Linked DNA regions of Homo sapiens: all the other regions are linked to region 4. Evidence: promoter capture Hi-C in 16 types of primary human blood cells and fetal thymus (Javierre and others, 2016). All regions are on one chromosome and are shown on one strand. Each heading gives the region's core, a stretch centred on a gene start or on the middle of the fragment in contact. The rest is flanking DNA. Distances are from core to core; before and after follow the strand shown. Region 1 overlaps PARP2 (poly(ADP-ribose) polymerase 2). Region 2 holds the start of PIP4P1 (phosphatidylinositol-4,5-bisphosphate 4-phosphatase 1). Region 3 overlaps TTC5 (tetratricopeptide repeat domain 5). Region 4 holds the start of METTL3 (methyltransferase 3, N6-adenosine-methyltransferase complex catalytic subunit). Region 5 overlaps OXA1L-DT (OXA1L divergent transcript).

Region 1 (4,180 bases), core at 1,234-3,733, 1.2 Mb after region 4:
TCAAGGTATTAGTTTGATTTAATCACTAAGGATGCAGTTTGGTGTTTCAACCACAGAATGTCAGGGTGAAAAGACATTAACATTTAGGCCAAATCACACCTATAAAACGAAAAGTTTTTTATAAGCCACACACTTATAAAATTCTTAGAGAAGGCAGGGCACGGTGGCTCACGCCTGTAATCCCGCACTTTGGGAGGCTGAGGCAGGCGGATCACCTGAGGTCAGGGGTTCGAGACCAGCCTGGCCAACATGGCGAAACCCCATCTCTATTAAAAATACAAAAATTAGCTGGGCGTGGTGGTGGGCGCCTGTAATCCCAGCTACTAGGGAGGCTGAGGCAGGAGAATCACTTAAACCCAGGAGGTGGAGGTTGCAGTGAGCTCAGATCATGCCATTGCACTCCAGCCTGGGCAACAAGAGTGAAACTGTCTAAAAAAAAATTTTTTAGAGAATATACATCTAAGAAGAGGAGGGTATATTTTTTTGTAGTCACTTTTCAGCACTCACTTCTTCTGAAAGATTTCCTTGGCCTTGTTGAGATTGCCTGAACAAGCCACCAGGCTGTGCTGTCCCATTTTCCCAACTGCAAAGGAAATGCCACACATAAGATAGTTCCCTAAGAGTAACAGGCCAGCTCTCCAAGATCTCTCTGCTTAACATCTGACAAACAGGCAGGAAAGGGAGAAGGGAAAGGTGAAAGGATTTAGGGAACTAATCATGTTGATACAAGTTACTTGCTAACTGCCATAGTCTATGAGCACTACTAGCAGTTCAACTATAGAAGAGTTTTCAGACTCAATGGGCTGCTCTTAGTTTTTCCAGTGGGAACTCTAAGGAGGATGCCTGCCATTCCCCAATTTCAAGATGCTCAACTTGATTCCTAAGGCTCTCCCAGACTTCAGAGCCTCTACTGACCCAATTTAAACCCAGAGAATCCTTTGGCCACCCACTAAGCTGCTTCTGACTTTCTGAATGCCAACTCATAAAATCTCAATAAAAATCATTACCTCGGCCCCATCTCATCCAAACACTGAAGTTCCTCTGGGCATCATCTTCTAATAGCTGAATCAGATAGTACTTGTTGTTGTTGAACTGGAGATTGGTCTATGTTGAGTGAAAACAAAAACAAAAAAAAGGAGTTTTGCAAATGGAAATCACATAAACCAATGACTCATCCTTCGTCACAGGTGCCAGTTATTTCCATAAGGAAAAGGATAGCATCAGGCAAGAAAATTAGATTCCTGTAAGATTAAAGATATAAAGAAGAAATAGGGCTTATACATTAAACTTTGGATTCTTAGGAATTAAAGTGGGAGCCTAGAAGCTTCCTAAAACCCTCTATCCAACCTCAAATATCCTACATTGAATGGCTCCTCCAGTTTTTTCCTGCCTCAGCTCCCTATTTAGATATTTTCTAAGCTATATGTGTTTTCCAGCTCCCAATCCACTCCCAATAATTATTTCCCAAATGAAAACAATTTGGATGCTCCAAAGGTCTAAACCTGTTATGCTCAACTGTTAAATGACTTACTCCTTGACAGTTCTACTCACAGCTTTTGTTTGTCAGCTGCAGAAATTTGACAATGAGCTGAGAGCAGGGCAATAATGGGAGGGGACAAGGGATACGCAAAACCACTGCCACATCCGTCCCATACCTAACCTGACCTGACTTGGAGATACTGAGAGAGAATATGGCCAGTATCTAAAAAGAGGTATCTGTAAGTAAATCACTCAGAGTGAAGAGAGAGAAGTCCATGATAAGGCATAGCAGCTGGTGTTGTATGGCCGAGCCCTGGATATGGAGGCATTCTTTTTTGTTAAGCATGCTGCCCCTTCCTACCTCTATCTCCTGCTTGCTCACATTCTAAAGCCATTGTACGACCTTAGCCCACTGGTGAAAAAAAAAAGGTCATTAGATGTTAGAACAAAAAGGAGCCTAAGATATTTTCTTTTTTTGAGACAGAGTCTTGCTCTGTCGCCCAGGCTGGAGTGCAGTGGTGCAACCTCCGCTCATTGCCACCTCTGTGTCCTAGGTTCAAGCAATTTCTTGTGCCTCAGCCTCCCTAGTAGCTGGGATTACAGGCACACGCCACCATGCCAGACTAATTTTTTTTTGTATTTTTAGTAGACATGGAGTTTCAACATGTTGGCAAGGCTGGTCTTGAACCCCTAACTCAAGTGATCTGCCCGCCTTGGCCTCCCAAAGTGCTGGGATTTTAGGCATAAGCCACCATGCCCAGCTTGATATTTTCTTTTCCTTTAAAAAATTTTTTTGTAAATGTTTTTATGGTTTTTATTTTTTATTTTTTTGAGATAGGGTCTCCCTCTGTCACCCAGGCTGGAGTGCAATGGCTCAATCACAGCTCACTGTAGCCTCAACCTCCCAGGCTCAAGCAATCCTCCCACCTCAGCCTCCAAAGTAGCTGGCCCATGCCCGGTGTTTTTGTATTTTTTTGTAGAGACAAGGTTTCACCATGTTGCCCAGGCTGATCTTGAACTCACACCTGAAGTGATTCTCCAGCCTTGGCCTCCGAAAGTGCTAGGATGACAGGCATGAGCCACCACACCTGGCTGCCTTAAGGTATTTTCCTTCTTTTCTTTTTTTTTTTGAGAAGGAGTTTTGCTCTTGTTGCCCAGGGCTGGAGTACAATGGTACGATCTCGGCTCACCACAAACTCCGTCTCCCAGGTTCAAGCAATTCTCGTGCCTCAACCTCCCGAGTAGCTGGGATTACAGTCATATGCCACCACACCTGGCTAATTTTGTATTTTTAGTAGAGATGGGATTTCTCCACATTGGTCAGGCTGGTCTTGAACTCCCGACCTCAGGTGATCCGCCCGCCTCAGCCTCCCAAAGTGCTGGGATTACAGGCGTGAGCCACTGCACCTGGCTAACCTTAAGGTATTTTCTATCTGCTCGTGGTATTTTAAGTAGAAGAAATAGTAAGAAATAAATACTAATTGGTTGTTAAAATTATATATGTTGGATCAATAAATTCAAACATGAAGTCATATCCAGGAAATATATTAATGAGGCAAATGTATTATCTACTCAAAACCACAAAGGTAAACAAGAGAAAAAGGTTGATTAAAAAGAAAGCTGAGCTTGGGGGCAGATGCCTGTAGTCCCAGCTACTTGGGAGGCTGAGGTTGGAGGATCACACGAGGTCACAAGTTCAAGGCCAGCCTGAGCAACATAGCAAGACACTGTCTCTAAAATTAAAAAAAAAAAAACCCAAAATTTTTTAAAAAGGAAAAATTAATAAATTTAACTACAGAAAAAATTTAAAACTTCAATATGGGCAAAAAGTGTACTATAAGGAAAACCAAAAGGTAAATGACAAATCTGGAAAACACAAGTGGTTTGTATTACAGACAAAAGGCTATTCTCCATATTATATAAAGTTCCTCGAAACCAGTAAGAAAAGGACCAATAACTTTAGAAAATGTGCAAAACAGCTTGTCCCAGTGGCTCATCCCTGTAATCCCAGTGCCTCATGAGGACAAGGCAGGAGGATCATTTGAGGCCAAGAATTCAAGACCACCTATCCAACATAGCGAGATTCTCATCTCCATAAAAAATTTAAAAATTAGTCAGGCTTTGTGGCATGCGCCTGAAGTCCGAGCTACTCAGGAAGCTTAGGTGGGAGGATTGCTGGAGCCCAGAAGTTCAAGGTTGCAGTGGGCTATGACTGTACAAACTGCACTCCAGCCTGGGTGACAGAACAAGATCCTGTCTGTTTAAAAAAAAAAAAAAAATGTGCAAAAGGATATGAACAGAGAGTTAACAATTTCAATAAATGATATGAAATTTGCAAAAAAAAATCTTCTCACAGAGGACTCTGCTATCTGATAAGAGTGTGCTAGGGCTGAGTACTCAGGTGTTTAACCACTAATGGCTAATATTAATATAAAGGACTTGCCGGGCGCAGTGGCTCATGCCTGTAATACCAACACTTTGGGAGGGTGAGGTGGGTGGATCACCTGAGGTCAGGGGTTCAAGACCAGCCTGGCCAACATGGTGAAACCCCATCTCTACTAAAAATACCAAAAAATTAGCCAGACACTGCACCTGTAGTCCCAGCTACTTGGGAGGCTGAGGCTGGAGAATTGCTTGAACCCAGGAGGCAGAGATTGCAGTGAGCCGAGATTGCACCACTGCATTCCAGCCTGGGTGACAG
Region 2 (4,614 bases), core at 894-3,393, 1.0 Mb after region 4:
TGCACAATACTCATTTTTCTTTATGTTTTAGAAGTTTTCTCTGGCTGCTCTAGCTAGAAGTGATCTCTTCTTTTCTTGAACTTGAATTACATTGTTTAATTCTTTTATTATGAAGCATGTGCTGTATCATGAATTTCTAGTATTGATATTTTTCCATGTAATAAAATACTAGTGCTGATTTTCTTTTTTTTTTTTTTTTTTTTGAGACACGATCTTGCTCTGTTGCCCAGGTTTAGATCATGGCTCATTGTAACCTTGAACTCCTGGGCTCAAGCAATCCTCCACCTCAGCCTCCCAAAACACCGGGATTACAGGCATGAGCCACCACTCCTGACCTGATATGTTATACTGTCAATGTTTACACTATTCTGTCTCCCTACCCAGAGTGTAAGCTTTTTTAAGGAGTGTCTTTCACAAAGTGTAGATATTTAAAAAATATTTTTAGGACAGTTTTTGGAATATATGTGTAACTAGGGCGCAAATAATGGATCCTACTCCAACCCCAGACAATGCTTGAGCATCTGTGTGCCACAAACAGCAGAAAAAGCAGCAGACTGGCCTCCCTCTATGGAGCTACAACCTCTTCCCTATTTTGTATCTGGAGCTTCCTTAGTTCTTTAAGTGTCTGTTAGGGGCTCTTATCTAACTGGTCGAAGGTTACTAGCTTCCAAGTAGAAGTTGGCCTGAGAAAACCCTGTCTAAAAAAATCAGGACCTAGGTGAAGTCTCCAGCCCCTGTAGCAGCCAAGTGCTGGGACATCTGCAGTTCCTTTGTTATTACATATTTGGGGCTGGCTGTACTTTCTTTGATGCACTTCCTTTCTTAGTGGAGAGTCTGCTAGCCAAACTGATAATGGACCTCCTCGGGGTTTATTGTTTTTATCAATTCCTTGTTGCTTCCCATATTTAAAGCAGTCCCAGTTTGGGCTATGACTTGGGAAAAAATCCAGGTGTGGTTCAGGCGCCCATAAAGACCACACGAGACTTCAGGTAGGGGAGGAGGCACTGCCCCTTTGCTGGAAGCAAAGTTGAGACAGGCCTAAAGACTGTCCCATCTGTCAAATAAGGTGACGAAAATAACCTTGTATTTGATTAATCCAATCTACAAACTTGTGCGTATGTTAAAGGTTGGTGGTCATAAAACTGAGTAAAGGCACGGTGGCTTGTCCCTGTAGTCCCAGCTACTGGGAAGGCTTAGGCAGGAGATCAAACTCAGGAGTTTGAGTCCAGCATAGGCAAGACCCCATCTCTATTGAATTTTTTTTTTTTTTTTTTTAGTAAAACGATGAAATCTTCTAGTAGTGGAGACACTAATGAAAAGATAATTTAACAATTTGATCAGCAATGGGGAAAGACGGGGCTCTGTAAGGACAGCTTCCAGGAAAACCCAGTCTTGTGTCCTGTCCTGAAAGTGACTCTAGCGACAAAGGCTGGAGTGATAATCTTAACTTTTTAATCCATTTCCTTCTGGTACCTCATTACTCTGACTTTTTAAAGGTACTTCTTTGAGTAGAACAGCTAACTTTGTCTACTGTTCCCCACCGTCCATTTTCTCCCCGCTCAGAAGATCCCAAGCTTCCGCACTCCTTTATTGCACCCGCCCAGCCTCCTTTAAAATGCATAAGCCACGCCCCCCATGTTCTGGCGCTAAGTTCGGGCCAATGCAGTTGCGCCGCTAGGATCACAGGACGAAAGAAGTAAAGTCACCAGCCAATAGGAAACCAGCTACAACGCAAAGCCGGAGAAAAGTGTTTTAGTGGTGTCTTTGAACCAATGAGGAGCAGAGCAACAGGGACCGTGCAGCTTCCAGAAACACGTGACCAGTTGAGCAGACGCAGCCTAGCCCTACCTCCTGGTCTGGAGGTAGCGCGATGGGCGTCGCTCCCAATAGCTTGCAGAACCTCTAGTCACGTGCAGGTTTTGCAAGCCCAGCAGCATCTGGCAGGTCATGTGACAGTTGACGTTTGTGCGTCGCTCCCCAATGGAAAAGGAGAGCTGCCTTCACAGGACCAGGAATTGGTTTATCTACGCGAATAATAGCATGACCCGGGCGGGGATAGCCTATCACGTGCTGCTAGACGGAACGGGGCGGGGCAGGCCACTGGTTGCGGAGTGAGCTGGGCGCGCGGCGCGCAGGCGCCCTGGGGACCCGGTAGCGGCGGTGGCGGTGGCGGCGGTGGCGGTGGCTGCGGCGACGGCAGAGGCGAAGGGAGCCGGATCGCCGACCTGAGCGGGAGGCGGCGGTGGCGGCCATGGCGGCAGATGGAGAGCGTTCCCCGCTGCTGTCTGAGCCCATCGACGGTGGCGCGGGCGGCAACGGTTTAGTGGGGCCCGGCGGGAGTGGGGCTGGGCCCGGGGGAGGCCTGACCCCCTCCGCACCACCGTACGGAGCCGGTAAACATGCCCCGCCCCAGGGTAAGCCGGGGCGGGTCCGAGGTGCTCCCCGGGGTACTCTGAAAGCCGGGGAGGGGGCGGGACCGAGGGCGGAGGCGGGTCCCAGTCGCCAGGTGCGGGACTGCTGCACCTGTGACTGGGCGAGGCTTCCTTCCCTCCGTAATCGCGACCACAGCCTAGGGACGGAAGGGGGTTCTGAGCAACCTGATAGAAGTGCCAATTATGAGAAGCCCTCCGAGCTTGGTCAGAGGGTTGAAGATCAGAAGGACTTCCCTACCACCGTGGAGCATCAGTGGGGGTGTAAGTGATCCCAGCCCTTCTATTTGCTTCCTCTCCAGCATTTCCCCCGTTTCCCGAGGGGCATCCAGCCGTGTTGCCTGGGGAGGACCCACCCCCCTATTCACCCTTAACTAGCCCGGACAGTGGGAGTGCCCCTATGATCACCTGCCGAGTCTGCCAATCTCTCATCAACGTGGAAGGCAAGATGCATCAGCATGTAGTCAAATGTGGTGTCTGCAATGAAGCCACCGTGAGTTACACATATCTATGAAATGGGCCCTGTTTCCTGGATCCTCTTTCTGATGTCTTGGTTCTAGACCCTGACCTTCCGGCTATTAGCCAAGTGCTTTTGATGATACCCAGGTTTCAGTTCCAGGTGTCTCACACAGCCATTTCCCCAGAAGCCACTCACCAAAGCTAATGTTCACTTTCTCTCACTTTTACACCTAGCCTAGTTCCTATTTGCAAATCTCATGATATAGTCTTTCTTTTATTTCTCCTTCCTGGTTAGCACCTTATTTTTCTGATCTCATAAAGTGTTTTTGGAGGGAAGTGGAGGGGATTGGGATTAGAGGTTTGCTTGCTGATGACCCTATTATTCTCTAGCCAATCAAGAATGCACCCCCAGGGAAAAAATATGTTCGATGCCCCTGTAACTGTCTCCTTATCTGCAAAGTGACATCCCAACGGATTGCATGCCCTCGGCCCTACTGGTAAGAGGCATAAGGTGGGGAAGGGCCTAAGTGGGGAACTGGAAAGTCAAAAAAGGATGAGCGTATACAGAGAATGTAAAGGTGAGAGAGCCTAGTGTTTATTTAGGAGAAAAGGCTTTGAAGCATGTGCCTCAGGAATGTTATAGCTGTCTTTCTCGTTTCTCAATAAAAATATTGAGATGAAATGATGTCGTTTCGGAGAATAGAGAGCCTTGGGGACTGGGTGTGTTATCCTGAGGTCGGAGGGGAATTGGGGACCTGAAGTTTAAACAGTGCTCTTTCTTTCTCAAGGATTCTTGAGGGTATACAGTTGGGGGACAGAGTATCTTAAGTACAGAGAAGTCGAGTGACTTAATAGACAGGGAGTGGGGGATGTGGAACAGGGACTGTGAAGATTTTTAGGATTAAAAATTTTTCAAACACAAGTTTGAAAATACAAGTCTTTTTCTTTTGTATAGCAAAAGAATCATCAACCTGGGGCCTGTGCATCCCGGACCTCTGAGTCCAGAACCCCAACCCATGGGTGTCAGGGTTATCTGTGGACATTGCAAGAATACTTTTCTGGTGAGGAAGGGGTATTGGGAAGGGGAGGGGAAAGGAGACTAAGAGTCATTTCGAGTATATTTCTTAGAGTAATGGTAATGACCCCTGAAAGGTCTGTCCTATGGGAACATGTTCTGCATCCCCACCCCAAGGTTCTCATTGAGGGAGACCCTGCTTGTGCTATTATTTTTGTTTTCTTTCTCCATAGTGGACAGAGTTCACAGACCGCACTTTGGCACGTTGTCCTCACTGCAGGAAAGTGTAAGTGATTAGGGATTGAGCTGGTAATTGATGTATGGAGTAAAAACTACAAGGCCATAGAAAGCATCCATTTCTATTTGCCTCCCCACAGGTCATCTATTGGGCGCAGATACCCACGTAAGAGATGTATCTGCTGCTTCTTGCTTGGCTTGCTTTTGGCAGTCACTGCCACTGGCCTTGCCGTGAGTACCCTTGCCCCAACCTCTTTCATTCTGCAGCCTCATCTCCATAGGCTAAGATTTGGGAAACTGCTACCCTAAAAAAAAGTGGAAGAAACTTGGGGGACTAGTTTGTTTTGTTTTAAGATATGGATGAGCTAAAGTGCAAAGTGGCTGATCAAACAGACTTTATTACTACTACAAGAGTGAAAAACAGCCTTCCTTTCTCTGTAGGATGAGGATAGGACAGTGAAATTCTTAATTTAA
Region 3 (4,510 bases), core at 548-3,047, 1.2 Mb after region 4:
ACCAGCTCTTCAGGCTGTTTGTTGCAGCACAGGAAAATAACCAGGAAGGAAAACAGTTTATTTCTCTAGATTCCTAGCCCATGGTGCCATTCCCTCGGGATAGTTTGTCTGGATATACTTATAATTGGGATACACTTCTTGTACAGTTGCATAAATATGAAGAGAGTTATGGGGAGGCCCTGGAGGGCTTCTCTCGGGCTGCAGCCCTGGACCCTGCCTGGCCAGAGCCCCGGCAACGAGAGCAACAACTTCTGGAATTCCTGGATAGATTAACCAGCCTCCTTGAGAGTAAGGTAAAAATGTCTGAAGGGCTGAATTCCACTTTTTTTTTTTTTATTTTGTCGTGGGTCAATAAAATAAGAATAAATAGGTTTACGAGGTAGAGACCCTATAGAAGTGGGTGGGAGGGAAGGATTAGAATCTCAAGGAAGGCGACTAGTTTCCAGCTTCTTACCTATTTCCCCTTCTTTGCAGGGAAAGGTGAAGACCAAAAAGCTGCAGAGCATGCTGGGAAGCTTGCGCCCAGCCCATCTAGGCCCTTGCAGTGATGGGCACTATCAGTCAGCCTCTGGGCAGAAAGTGACCCTGGAGCTCAAGCCACTGAGTACGCTTCAGCCTGGGGTGAACAGCGGTGCCGTCATCCTGGGAAAGGTGGTATTTAGCCTCACCACAGAGGAGAAAGTCCCCTTGTGAGTTTCTCTTGGATTTCCCCCATTTTACCCTTTTGAACTAATTGCTCTCACTTCCTGTTCTTTCCCTGGCAGTTGAGGAGATTGTCAGTGGTCACAGATTTGTGACTTCTGATTTCCTTCTGTGACTATCCCGTGGGCAGATATTGTCTGGGTGATGTTTAACCATCTTTTGATCAGAGGCTTTTGTAGATTCTGTCACTGCCCATTTTGTATCCCTGAGTTTGGTGCTATGTGGATTCCTATATCCATAGTTGAAATTTGGCAGGACATATTTTTTTATAAGACAGAAACCTCAAAATTCTTCTGTCCCTTTGCATTTTCATGATCATAGAAGTTGAAGGAGGACAAATTTCTTAGTCCTGTTTGTACTTAGGTATACTTAGTTCTGAAAAGTGAGCTTTGAGTTATAATTTAAAGTCTGGTTGGGAGATTGTCTTAGATGTCATTCAACAAATATTTATTGAGTGTGTAATATATGTGTCATAGGGAGTGAGAAAAAAGAAATGTAAAGGACCCAGGTGCAGGTGCTTCTAGCAGCAGAGGAAATGAATTAAGAATATTTGTTTAGAAAATTTTTGGATCTTGAAAAGTTACGGTTTAGTGAATGCCACCACTCCTTGGTCCTTCACTCACTTCCTAATCCCTGGTTGACCGGTTTCCCCTTTCTCTTTTCTACTGAAATTGTTATTTTCCTAGGATCACCATTGTCTTTCTAGGCACTGGATCCAGCAACTTCTATTGCATGGTTCCAAAACATTCTGACTTATCTCTCACTATTGCTTTTCACATCCTTTCTGTTCATCTAAACAGAAATATTCACAATTCCCATTATATGCCCAAGCTTTCTCCATGGCATTTTCTAGGGGTTTGTATATTTGACGAGTTGAAGGGCAAAAAGATAGTTGAGAACAGTTTAGTTTACTAGAGCAAATCCTAGAGCTGAGAAGAATTAGAAAGGGATATAGACAAAGGTAGGTTTTGGAGGACCTTGAGAACAAATAGATATTTTGCCACTCCTTGGTTTCTCTTTTTCTGCCTAACTTTTAAATCTTAGGTTCCCAGGACTCTATTTTTGTTTTTTTCCTTTTTTCTCTTTATATCAGGATGGCCTATAGTTGCCAACTTTGATCACTTGTCAGTGGTTGCCTGACATACTGTGTAGAAGGATTCTGAGGCTTTGACTGGATTCATCAGGAGAGTGCTTTGCTTGATTGCAATATTTCCTGTGAATTCAGGCATGTCACGTGATGGCATGAGTGTGATTCTTCTCCATCCTGTCTATAGATCATCTTGCCCTGTGATGTCATATAAACCCAAGGCTTTGGCAGCCTCCTATATGCTTACAGATATATCTCCAGCCCAAGCTTCATTTCCAAGTGTTGGATTCCTATAACCATCTGCTTCTGGGTTCCAATAAGAAATCTCTAACTCAGTATTTCAGTATTACTCACCTAAATCTTTCTCTGTAAACCTGCTTCTCCTCCCTGGATTCCTTGTGAATGAATGGTATCACCTCTCAGTCACTTGATTAAGACTTTTGGAAGAATAGGCTTCTCCATTCTCCAAAAAGATTTGCCTTTTTTGTCCTATAGACTTGACTTCTCTGTGTTTACCACCTTAATTCACCCCCTTATCACTTCTCCAGATAGGTCTCCCTGATTCTCTGGTTTCCTCCAGTGTTCCACAGTGCTGCCAGAGAAATGTTTCTTAGATGGAAATCTGACCATTGCTACTTCTTATTTAAGATCCCTTACTGGTACTATATGTAGCTTTTGGGATAAAGTGTGAACTACTTAGGTTAGCATACAAAGTCCTTCATGATTTGCTCCCTGCTTCTCTTTCTATTATCTTTTGTCTCTTTCCCACCAGTGCCTTTTGTTTCAACCATGGAACAATTTTGTTGGTTTTAGAACAGCTGTTTTCATGCCTCTGTGTCTTACATACAGTTACTCTGCCTGGATAATCTCTAGCTTCTTCTTGACATAGCTAACATCCTCTTCTGCCCCCAACATTTTGTATAAAAATTTTCAAACATATAGCTAAGTTGAAAGAGTTTTACATTGAACATTTGTGTTCTCATCCACTTATATTCTACCATTAATATTTTATTTTACTTAGCTTATTACATATCAGTCTGTTTATCCTGCTATCAGAGTAAATTGCAGAGATCAATATACTTTACATACTTTAGCATGCAGTCATTAACTGAGTTCAGTATTTGTTTCAATTTTTTCTTTTTATGTAAAATTTACATACAATGAAATGTACAATTTTAAGCGTACATTTCATAGCTTTTAACAAATGGAAAATATCTGTATAACCCAAATAGAGATCATTACCACCATTCTGGGAAGTTCCCTGATGTTGCCTCCAAGTCAAAATCTCTGTTCCTATCCCCTCAGAGGTTTTTAACATTTTTACCGAGGATTAATTTTTCTCTTTTAACCCAGCTGGTTTTTTACCCTTTAAGATTCACTTTGAGCGTCACCTCTTCCAGGAAATCTTCCCTGCTTTCCAATTTTGATTTAGATATTTGTCCTCTGGGCTCCCACAGCCCAATCTGTGGCTTCATTGAATTCAGCACAAGGGAAAAGCTATTCTAGCACCCATCACACTGTGCTGTAAGTGATGACTTCATTGTCTGACTCCTGCTAGACTATAGGTCATTCATAGCTGGATTGGTATCTTATTGCTAAACACAATGCTTGGCACATATGTAATATTCAGTGAAAGTTTGTGGAGTTAAACTACACAGACAGTGATGGTTAGAGGCTTTGGTTAAGAGTATGATAGTTAAATTGATAGACCAGGAATAATGTTACAACTGTAACATGTTGGTCTAGTTCATCATTAATATTTGTTGAATGGCTTCAGTGTGCTTTGTCCTAAGTTCTTAGCAAAGTGACTGATGAGTTTCAGAAAAATGAAGACTCAGATATATAAAGTGGAAGATGGTACCTCTCATAGGTTTTCTGAGTAACTGAGAAAAAGCATTTGTTTATTTTGTTAGTATTTTATTTTTAAAGTTTAATTAAGTTAAATTTTATATTTTATTTTAATTACCTGTCACTGACTTTAAGTCCAGTATTTTGCTAGTATTTTTAAACCACTGTTTCTGCTCTTCTTTCCTACCCACATACCTTTTTGTTTTCCTCTCTCCTAATCTGTCTTTACTTGGTAGTACATTTGGCCTGGTAGATTCAGATGGACCTTGCTATGCAGTGATGGTGTACAATATAGTGCAGAGCTGGGGAGTGCTCATTGGAGACTCTGTAGCCATTCCTGAGCCCAACCTGCGGCTTCACCGAATTCAGCACAAAGGAAAGGTGAGCAATGGCTAGGATTCTCTTACAACTCGTAGGCTCTAAAAGTAGAACCAAGCTTATCTTTTTATAAAAGATATAGAAATAATTATATGTAAGTATGTGTGTAGGCTATGTGTATATATATTTGTGTGTATATGTTTTATTTATATATATATATGTATTTTTTTACTAAAAAGGTAAACTGGTAAGCAGAAAAATAAAAAAATGCAGTGAAATATTATCACTCAGGTATTACTGCCTTTTAACTGTTACTGTTAACAGTTTGGTGTATATACCTGAAGTCTTTTCTTTTCACAAATATATACACATATATCTATATTTTAAATCATGAGTGGGATATTATATGCAAATGTTTGTGAATGTTTCCTATGTTTTTACATATTTCACCACATTGAGTAGACACGGGGTGATGAAGATGGTAATGATAGTTAACATTTATTTAACACTTAATTGAGTGCTAGACACTGTGCTAAGAGTTTTTATTACCTGCCT
Region 4 (4,164 bases), core at 1,225-3,724:
TTACAGTTCTTCTCATCAGACACTTAGTTACAATGGACTAATAACCATCTTTGTCCTCTCCAAAATCTCCTTCCTCCTCACCTCAATTTATCTAGAACAGCAAATCAATTTTGAAACATTCCTATTTACAAACCCTAAGTGTTTCCTATTGTATTCTGAATAAATTGCCAAGTCTTTACTCAGGTACCATGTACCTTCTACAATCTGGCCTCAAATTTGGAAACCTAAAATTTCTCCCAATATTCCCAAATATAAATCTTTATGTTCTGGCGAACTAATCCAGATTGGCATAACACACATCACGCTTTCCTACCTCTAGTCTAGACCTTTGCCTTTATCATATTCCAGACCTGGATTTCCCTCCTATACCTTCACCTACTGAAACCTTAGTGGTCATTTTAAGCCTGAACCTTGATTCCAGCTTCTTTCCAATGCCTTCCTGGGTCATTAAACTTGGAGTCCTCCTCTTCTTTGAAATCACGTTTTTTTTTTTCCTGTTTTTTTGTTTTGTTTTGTTTTTGTTTTTTAAAAAGTCTATGCCCATGCTACCTCATGCTGTGAAGATGGTTCAGTATTAATAAACTGGCTCACAGCTCCTTGACCAGATTATAAACTCTTTGAAAACAGGAGCCATGCCAGTCAAACTATTTTTTGTATTTTTTGGACAACAGCGTATGGCATCATGTAGACATTGGATAAGTCAGTGATTCCCGAAATGTTTCCATTCAGGGAGCTCCATTAAAAAAACAAAACAAACAAACAAACAAAAGGCCAAGCCGGTGGCTCATGCCTGTAACCCCAGCACGTTGGAAAGCCAAGGCAGGCTGATGAGCTAAGGTCAGGAGTTCAAGACCAGCCTGGCCAACATGGTGAAACCCCATCTCTATTAAAAATACAAAATTAACTGGGCATGGTGGCAGGTCCCTGTAATACCTGCTACTAGGTAGGCTGAGGCAGCTAGAATCCAGGAGGTGGAGGTTGCAGTGAGCTGAGATCACACCACTGCACACCAGCCTGGGCAGTAAGAATGAAACTCTGTGTCAGGCCAGGCTCGGTGGCTCACGCCTGTAATCCCAGCACTTTGGGAGGCTGAGGCAGGGGGGCAGATCGTAGGGGCAGATCACGAGGTCAGGAGTTCGAGACCAGCCTGGCCAACATAGTGAAACCCTGTCTCTACTAAAAATAAAAAAAATTAGCCAGGTGTGGTGGCACGCGCCTGTAATCCCAGCTATTCGGGAGGCTGAGGCAGGAGAATCGCTTGAACCCAGGAGGCGGAGGTTGCAGTGAGCTGAGACCACGCCATTGCACTCCAGCCTGGGTGACAGAGTGAGTGAGACTCCATCTCAAAAAAAAAAAAAAAAGAAAATGTGTCAAAAAAAGAAAGAAAGAAAGGATTGTAGGAAAAACCACCACCACCAACCTTGTATTTAAGTTTACTACACATACAGAAAAGTGCACACCAAAATGTTCAGCTCAATTACATTTCACAAACTGAACACACTCATGCAGGTAGCTCTCATAACAAAAAACACAACGCAACCAGGACCTCAAAGCCCTCTTAGTGTCGGAACCCGATTTTAATAGATTACACGTACTTTGTAAATTTAGCCTAAGAGAGAGATCACGTATTTGAAGACCTCTCGGATTTTTCCTTCATCAGCCCTCCCCACTTCCCCACGCCTCGTCAACACAAAGAAGCATGCCCGCACCCACCACCGCCCCCTCCTCACCTCAGATTGGGGACCACCGTTGTGTTTTTTATTTTTTTGTAAATGAACGCATGGAAACAAACCAACACCACCTTCAGTGGAAAAGGTATGTTAGTACCAAACTGTCAAAAGGAACTAGTGATCCTTCATCTTAAAAATCTGTACTATGGCCGGGTGTGGTGGCTCACGCCTGTAATCCTAGCACTTTGGGAGGCCAAGGAGGGCGGATCACGAGGTGAGGAGTTCGAGACTGGCCTGGCCAACACAGTGAAACCCCGTCTCTACTAAAAATACAAAAAATCTGCCGGGCGTGGTGGCGGGCGCCTGTAATACCAGCTACTCGGGAGGCTGCGGCAGGATAATCACTTGAACCCGGGAGGTGGAGGTTGCTGTGAGCCGAGATCGCGCCATTGCACTCCAGCCAGGGCGACAGAGTGAAACTCCGTCTCAAAAAAAAAAAAAAGAAAAAAACCCCCAAAACTGTACTATATGGTGTTGCTCTCTACGAGTGCTACTTTAACACAAGTCAACTCTCAGGACTCCTCTCCGAATATTCAACATGGCCGCATGCGCGTCTATAAGCAACATGGCCGCTCTGCCAGTCACCAACATGGCAACCACAGCCTCACTGTGTCCGGAAGCATGAGAGAGCGGGTATGAGGACTATACCGGCCGCTCTGCCAACACCTAACGTGGCTCTTTATAGCTTCCAAGAAAGCGCGACACCGGAAATGACTTTTCTGTCTTGCTCAGCTCCAGGGGTCATTTTCCGGTTAGCCTTCGGGGTGTCCGCGTGAGAATTGGCTATATCCTGGAGCGAGTGCTGGGAGGTGCTAGTCCGCCGCGCCTTATTCGAGAGGTGTCAGGGCTGGGAGACTAGGATGTCGGACACGTGGAGCTCTATCCAGGCCCACAAGAAGCAGCTGGACTCTCTGCGGGAGAGGCTGCAGCGGAGGCGGAAGCAGGACTCGGGGCACTTGGGTGAGGCACTGGGCTGTTGGGGCCGAGGCTCAACCGGGGAGGACGGGCGGGATCCCTAGAGAAAAAGCTCCAGAGTCACTGCCCTTTACCAAACGGCCATTTCTATAAAGCCTCGTACATTGGTACTCCCTCTCCACCTTCAGCAGCAGACGTTCGCCCTTCTGCAAGTAGTTCGCGGTTCCTCCTCACGCTGGGCCTCGGTTCTTCCAGCTCACTTTTACCGGACGGACGCTTGAGCCCCACCCTCGTCCGCCTTGCCCACTCCTCTTCAGACTGCGAGGACGTCGCCTTTGTGAGGCTGCTCAGCCCCCTATCCCGCGAAGCAGCAAGAACCCCTTTTTGTTGCTGCTTTGGCGCTTTGTTCCCTCAGTTATAACGACTGTTTTGTAGTGGTCATTTCTTGGCAGCTGTGGGTACAGTAAGCGAGGAATGAACCTTTATATCCGCAGTGCCCAATTTAGTGGCCCGTACAGAGTGGCACTGGGTGTTTCTGAATGAGTACCCCTACCGGCATTGACTTAGCCATTTACATACCTAGCAGGAATCTGAAAACATTTGTGTTTGGTTTCCAAACTTTTTCTCTTCTCCTGTTGCCCCCGTGTCACGATCATAAAACTTGAAGGAAATTTAAAAGATTAAATTCACTGTTATCCACTCCCTACCCTCAGGACAAACTCTGAATTATTTAAGGCAAACTAGTAACAAAGCTCTGCAAAAATAGTGACTCAGTATCACCTTTGTGGTAGATTGTTCCAATATTTGTCAGTATCTTCAACTGCATCTCTAAATCTTGTCTAGATCATGTTAGGTTCATGTGCTCGTATTCTGGCCCCTAGAAATAGAAGATGCACTGGCAGGATCCTCCCACCTAATTAATTACCTTTCTTGAGTATCTACAGTGTTCATGGGTCTAATTAGACAAAAATAAGGAAGAAATTGCCCCTGTCCTCAAGAAGTTTAAAAAGCATAGGATTCAAGGGGAGACGCTTACAAAAAGTGAGGAATATGATAAGATATATGTACGAAACCAAATGAATGAATCTACAGTCTGTACAATGAAGAGAAGTAACAAGAGCTGGTGTAGGTAGTGAAGCCATCAAAACCATCATAGTGGAATTGGCACTTGAATTTGGCCTTTATGGCTATATAGGACCTAGATAATTAAAGAGGTAAGAGGGGAGGATAGTGGAGTAAGAAGTGCAAGTCATATGGTCAGGCAATAATTAGTAGTCAAGTCTCAGAGTAGTTCCTGAATTACCTAAGAGGGAGAATTTTTTTTCCCTTGCTCTAGAAACTTCATTGATTTATTTATAGATACAATTTTTTGTTTTGTTATGTTTTTTCCCCTATTCTTTGGTTTCCTGTTTTGAAACTTTTTAAAAATGTGCATAAATGATGCCAACGACTTTTTTTGCTTTTGTTTTTGAGATAGCGTCTCTCACCGTTGCCCAGGCTGGAGTGTAGCAGTCCTCCC
Region 5 (4,017 bases), core at 278-2,777, 1.2 Mb before region 4:
AGTTGCTTCTCTCTTGCTGCTGTCAAGATTCTCTGTCTTTCAACAGTTTGATTATAATGTGTCTCAGTGTGAGTCTCTTTGGATTTATTTTACTTGGAGTTTATTGAGATTCTTGGATTTGTAGATTAGTGCCTTTCATCAAATTTGGGAAGTTTGCAGCCATTTCTTCAAATAATCTTTTTGCCCCTTTCTCTAACCCCTCTTTGGGAATCGTAATGCATATGTTGGTCTACTTAATGGTATTCCACAAGTTCCTTGGTCTCTGTCCACTTTTCTTTTTTTCTTTTTTTGAGACAGAGCCTCACTCTGTTGCCCAGGCTAGAGTGCAGTGACACAATCTTGGCTCACTGCAACCTCTGCCTCCCAGGTTCAAGCAATTTTCCTGCCTCAGCCTTCTGAGTAGTTGGGATTACAGGCACTCATCACCATGTCCAGCTAATTTTTGTATTTTTGGCAGAGATAAGGTTTTGCTGTGTTGGCCAGGCTGTTTTCGAACTCCTGACCTCAAGTGATCCACCCGCCTTGACCTCCCAAAGTGCTGAGATTACAGGCATGAGCCACCTCACTTGGCCTATCCACTTTTCTTTATTTATTTTTCTTTATGCTCCTCAGATTTGAAAATTTCAATTGTCTTATTTTCAAGTTCACTGATTCTTCTGTGTTTGAGCTCCTCTAGTAAATTTTCATTTCAGTTATTGTGTCTTTCAGCTATAGAATTTCTGTTTAGCTCCTTTTTACAATTTTTGTCCCTTTCTTGGTTTTCTAATTTTGTTAATATACCATTTTCCTGATTTCCTTTAGTTTTTTGCCCATGTTTTCTTTTAGCTCTTTGAGCAAATTTAAGACAATTGTTTTAAAGTCTTTGGTAAGTCAAATGTCTGGATGTCCTCAGAAATGGTTTCTGCCAATTAATTTTACTCCTTTGAATGTGCCATGTTTTCCTGTTTCTTTGTATGCCTTGTAATTTTTGTAGTTTTTGTTGAAAAGTAGACATTTGAAAAAACAGCTAACTCCCCTAGTCTTTGCAGATTGGCTCTATACTGGTACAGTTCTTCAGCACTGAGCAAGGCTTGCTTTGAGCCTAGGGATCAGCTGAGGTGAAGGCTTAAGGTCTTTTCAGGGCTTTTCTGACCAAGTGTCTTACCTGGGCATGTGTAACTTCCCAATTTCCCCATATACATGGCTGCTTTTGAATGTCTTATTTCCTAAAGAGTCTCAGTCCGGTTTCTCCTGGGGCCTTACATGGTCTACTGTATGTATCCACCCATAGTCTTTTACTCCACATGTCAGTGGGTCTGTAGTCTCCTTGCAGCTTTCATGAGCAATGACTACCGCTTTTCTGAGACCTGAGGCCAGTCCTTTAGGTAACCCCCATATGCGCACAATAATTTGCAAAAAGCTTTGCTCTTCTCCCTTCCATTTAAGGGAGGGAACTTGGAATTAGGCTGCTGCCTCTTCCAGACTAAGAGCACTGCCGCATCAGGGAGGAGGAGGGGACGAGGGCAAATAAAGACACGACAAAACTTTCTTAACATTTGGAAGGTGGGCATTCACTTGGTTACTGTAAACCTTTAACTGTTTTTTGGAGCTCTTACAGGTTAGTTCAGCTCATTTCTGGTTGTTTTATGAAGTTTCTGTTGGATAATGAAAGCTTGGAGCTTTGTCGTCCACCATTTTGCTGATATCACATGAGCATCCATTTTAATAAGATAGAAGAAAAGAGCACATTGGACCTTAAGTAAGTGTAAGAAAAGGAATAGAAAGTTAAGAGAATAGGCCAGGCATGGTGGCTCACACCTGTAATCCCAGCACTTTGGGAGGCTGAGGTGGGCGGATCACCGGAGGTCGGGAGTTCAAGACCAGCCTGACCAACATGGAGAAACCCCGTCTCTACCAAAAATACAAAATTAGCTGGGCATGGTGGCACATGCATGTAATCCCAGCTACTCGGGAGGCTGAGGCAGGAGAATCGCTTGAACCCGGGAGATGGAGGTTACAGTGAGCACTCCAGCCTGGGCAACAGGAGTGAAACTTAATCTCAAAAGAAAAAAAGAAAAAAAGATCAGGAGTTCAAGACTAGCCTGAGCAACATAGTGAGATCTCATCTCTAAAAAAAATTTAGGGCCGGTGGCTCACACCTGTAATCCAGCACTTTGAGAGGCTGAGGCAGGAGGATCACAAGGTCAGGAGTTTGAGAGCAGCCTGGCTAACATGGTGAAACCCCATCTCTACTAAAAATACAAAAATTAGCTAGGCACAATGGCTGGCGCCTGTAATCCCAGCTACTTGGGAGGCTGAGGCAGGAGAATTTCTTGAACCCAGGAGGCAGAGGTTGCAGTGAGCTGAGATCGTGCCTTGCACTCCAGCTGGGGCGACAAGAGCAAGACTCCGTCTCAAAAAACAAAAACAAAAAAATAAAAGAAATAATCTATATTTTGATTATTGTGGTGGTTAAGTAGGTGAATACATTTATCAAAATTCAGCAAACTATTCATTTAAATGGGCACATTTTATGTAAGTTATACATAAATAAATTTTATTCATAAGTAAAAAAACAGTTTACAGAGGACACTTCCCTGTCAAAATAGTACATTTGTCTCGATTAATTCATATATTTTGAGTGAAAAATTTTAAAAAGTTTATTCTCTGGATAATTACTTTGCCTTGTCACCTGGTATGGACATTTAGTCTTTGGTGCCTTATGAGATAAATGAATAAAGTGCTTGGGTAGTTCTGATGAGAGAGATTATGTCTAAGAATACATCAGGGATGGCTTCATGGAGGAAACCATTTTTAATCTTGGCCTTAATTAATAGATACAGAGAAAGAAAGATAAAAATAAAGAAAATAGCATGGCATTCCAGGCAGAATGAACAATAAAGGAAAACAATATTGCCTTTTGCAAAAATACACTGTTTTTTTTTTTGAGGGACTCTGTGTTTTCATTGTTTGTAATATCACGTCTCCGTGTTAAAGACCTGTGTGTAATTTTCAGTCATTAATTATGCACGGATGATTTCTCCCTATGCAGAATGCTGTTTGGGCTTAATCAGGCAATCTTTTAAAAGATGTAGTCTCTAGGGATTTGCTATTTAAGAAGTGGAACTAGCTACGTTATAATTAAATAATTCCTGCTACAGTACCATGTAAAAGGTCATTCATCATTCAACATTTATTTATTCTACAAAATATTTATCGAGTGCCCATTATATATCTGGTACTATTCTAGGCAATAGAGATACACATAAGTCAATATTTATCCCTCATGGGGCCTAATATTCTTTTTTTGTTCTTTTTTTTTATTATTATACTTTACGTTCTAGGGTACACGTGCATAACATGCAGGTTTGTTACATATGTATACATGTGCCGTGTTGGTTTGCTGCACCCGTTAACTCATCATTTACATTGGGTATTTCTCCTAATGGTATCCTTCCCCCATCCCCCCACCCCACGACAGGCCCCGGTGTGTGATGTTCCCTGCCCTGTGTCCAAGTGTTCTCATTGTTCAATTCCCACCTATGAGTGAGAACACGCGGTGTTCAGTTTTCTGTCCTTGTGATAGTTTGCTCAGAATGATGGTTTCCAGCTTCATCCGTGTCACTACAAAGGACATGAACTCATCCTTTTTTATGGCTGCATAGTATTCCATGGTATATATGTGCTACGTTTTCTTAATCCAGTCTATCATCAATGGACATTTAGGTTGGTTCCAAGTCTTTGCTATTGTGAATAGTGCCGCAATAAACATACGTGTGCATGTGTCTTTATAGTATCATGATTTATAATCCTTTGGGTATATACCCAGTAATGGGGTGGCTGGGTCAAATGGTATTTCTAGTTCTAGATCCCTGAGGAATCGCCACACTGTCTTCCACAATGGTTGAACTAGTTTACAGTCCCACCAACAGTGTAAGTGTTCCTATTTCTCCACATCCTCTCCAGCACCTGTTGTTTCCTGACTTTTTAATAATTGCCATTCTGACTGATGTGAGATGGTATCTCACTGTGGTTTTG

The links. Contacts are between HindIII fragments. The CHiCAGO score rates a contact against its expected background, and 5 or more counts as called.
Region 1: a contact is called between a fragment that was not itself captured here and the fragment with the promoter of METTL3 in region 4, in 1 of 17 cell types (monocytes). The highest score is 7.9, in monocytes.
Region 2: the fragment with the promoter of PIP4P1 here is called in contact with the fragment with the promoter of METTL3 in region 4 in 3 of 17 cell types (monocytes, erythroblasts and non-activated CD4 T cells); the score reaches 8.1 in monocytes.
Region 3: a fragment that was not itself captured here is called in contact with the fragment with the promoter of METTL3 in region 4 in 1 of 17 cell types (total B cells); the score reaches 5.1 in total B cells.
Region 5: a fragment that was not itself captured here is called in contact with the fragment with the promoter of METTL3 in region 4 in 4 of 17 cell types (non-activated CD4 T cells, naive CD4 T cells, naive CD8 T cells and 1 more); the score reaches 8.5 in non-activated CD4 T cells.

Annotation. Positions count from the first base shown.
Region 1 is chr14:20,347,450-20,351,629 of GRCh38, reverse strand. It overlaps PARP2 (poly(ADP-ribose) polymerase 2), which reads right to left. Exons shown (of 16, transcript NM_001042618.2): 5 at 1,008-1,104; 6 at 508-583. Among named protein-coding and RNA genes, the nearest start is that of PARP2, 5.9 kb to the right of the region's middle. The HindIII fragment of the contact is 2,313 bases long and covers 1,327-3,639 here.
Region 2 is chr14:20,458,963-20,463,576 of GRCh38, reverse strand. It overlaps PIP4P1 (phosphatidylinositol-4,5-bisphosphate 4-phosphatase 1), which reads left to right and starts at 2,143. Exons shown (of 7, transcript NM_144568.4): 1 at 2,143-2,393; 2 at 2,732-2,922; 3 at 3,279-3,385; 4 at 3,844-3,949; 5 at 4,137-4,189; 6 at 4,281-4,371. The coding sequence starts at 2,252. RefSeq lists enhancers at 1,479-1,558, 891-1,856, 1,859-1,928, 1,857-2,823 and silencers at 2,049-2,458, 2,519-2,688. The HindIII fragment of the contact is 6,669 bases long and covers 1,577-4,614 here.
Region 3 is chr14:20,291,491-20,296,000 of GRCh38, reverse strand. TTC5 (tetratricopeptide repeat domain 5) reads left to right here. Exons shown (of 10, transcript NM_138376.3): 7 at 147-293; 8 at 475-689; 9 at 3,874-4,018. Among named protein-coding and RNA genes, the nearest start is that of TTC5, 12 kb to the left of the region's middle. RefSeq lists an enhancer at 1-945. The HindIII fragment of the contact is 523 bases long and covers 1,536-2,058 here.
Region 4 is chr14:21,509,650-21,513,813 of GRCh38, reverse strand. It overlaps METTL3 (methyltransferase 3, N6-adenosine-methyltransferase complex catalytic subunit), which reads left to right and starts at 2,474. Exons shown (of 11, transcript NM_019852.5): 1 at 2,474-2,690. The coding sequence starts at 2,591. RefSeq lists an enhancer at 2,192-2,431. The HindIII fragment of the contact is 13,792 bases long and covers 1-4,164 here.
Region 5 is chr14:22,758,076-22,762,092 of GRCh38, reverse strand. All of the region lies in intron 1 of OXA1L-DT (OXA1L divergent transcript), which reads left to right. Among named protein-coding and RNA genes, the nearest start is that of OXA1L-DT, 6.5 kb to the left of the region's middle. The HindIII fragment of the contact is 252 bases long and covers 1,402-1,653 here.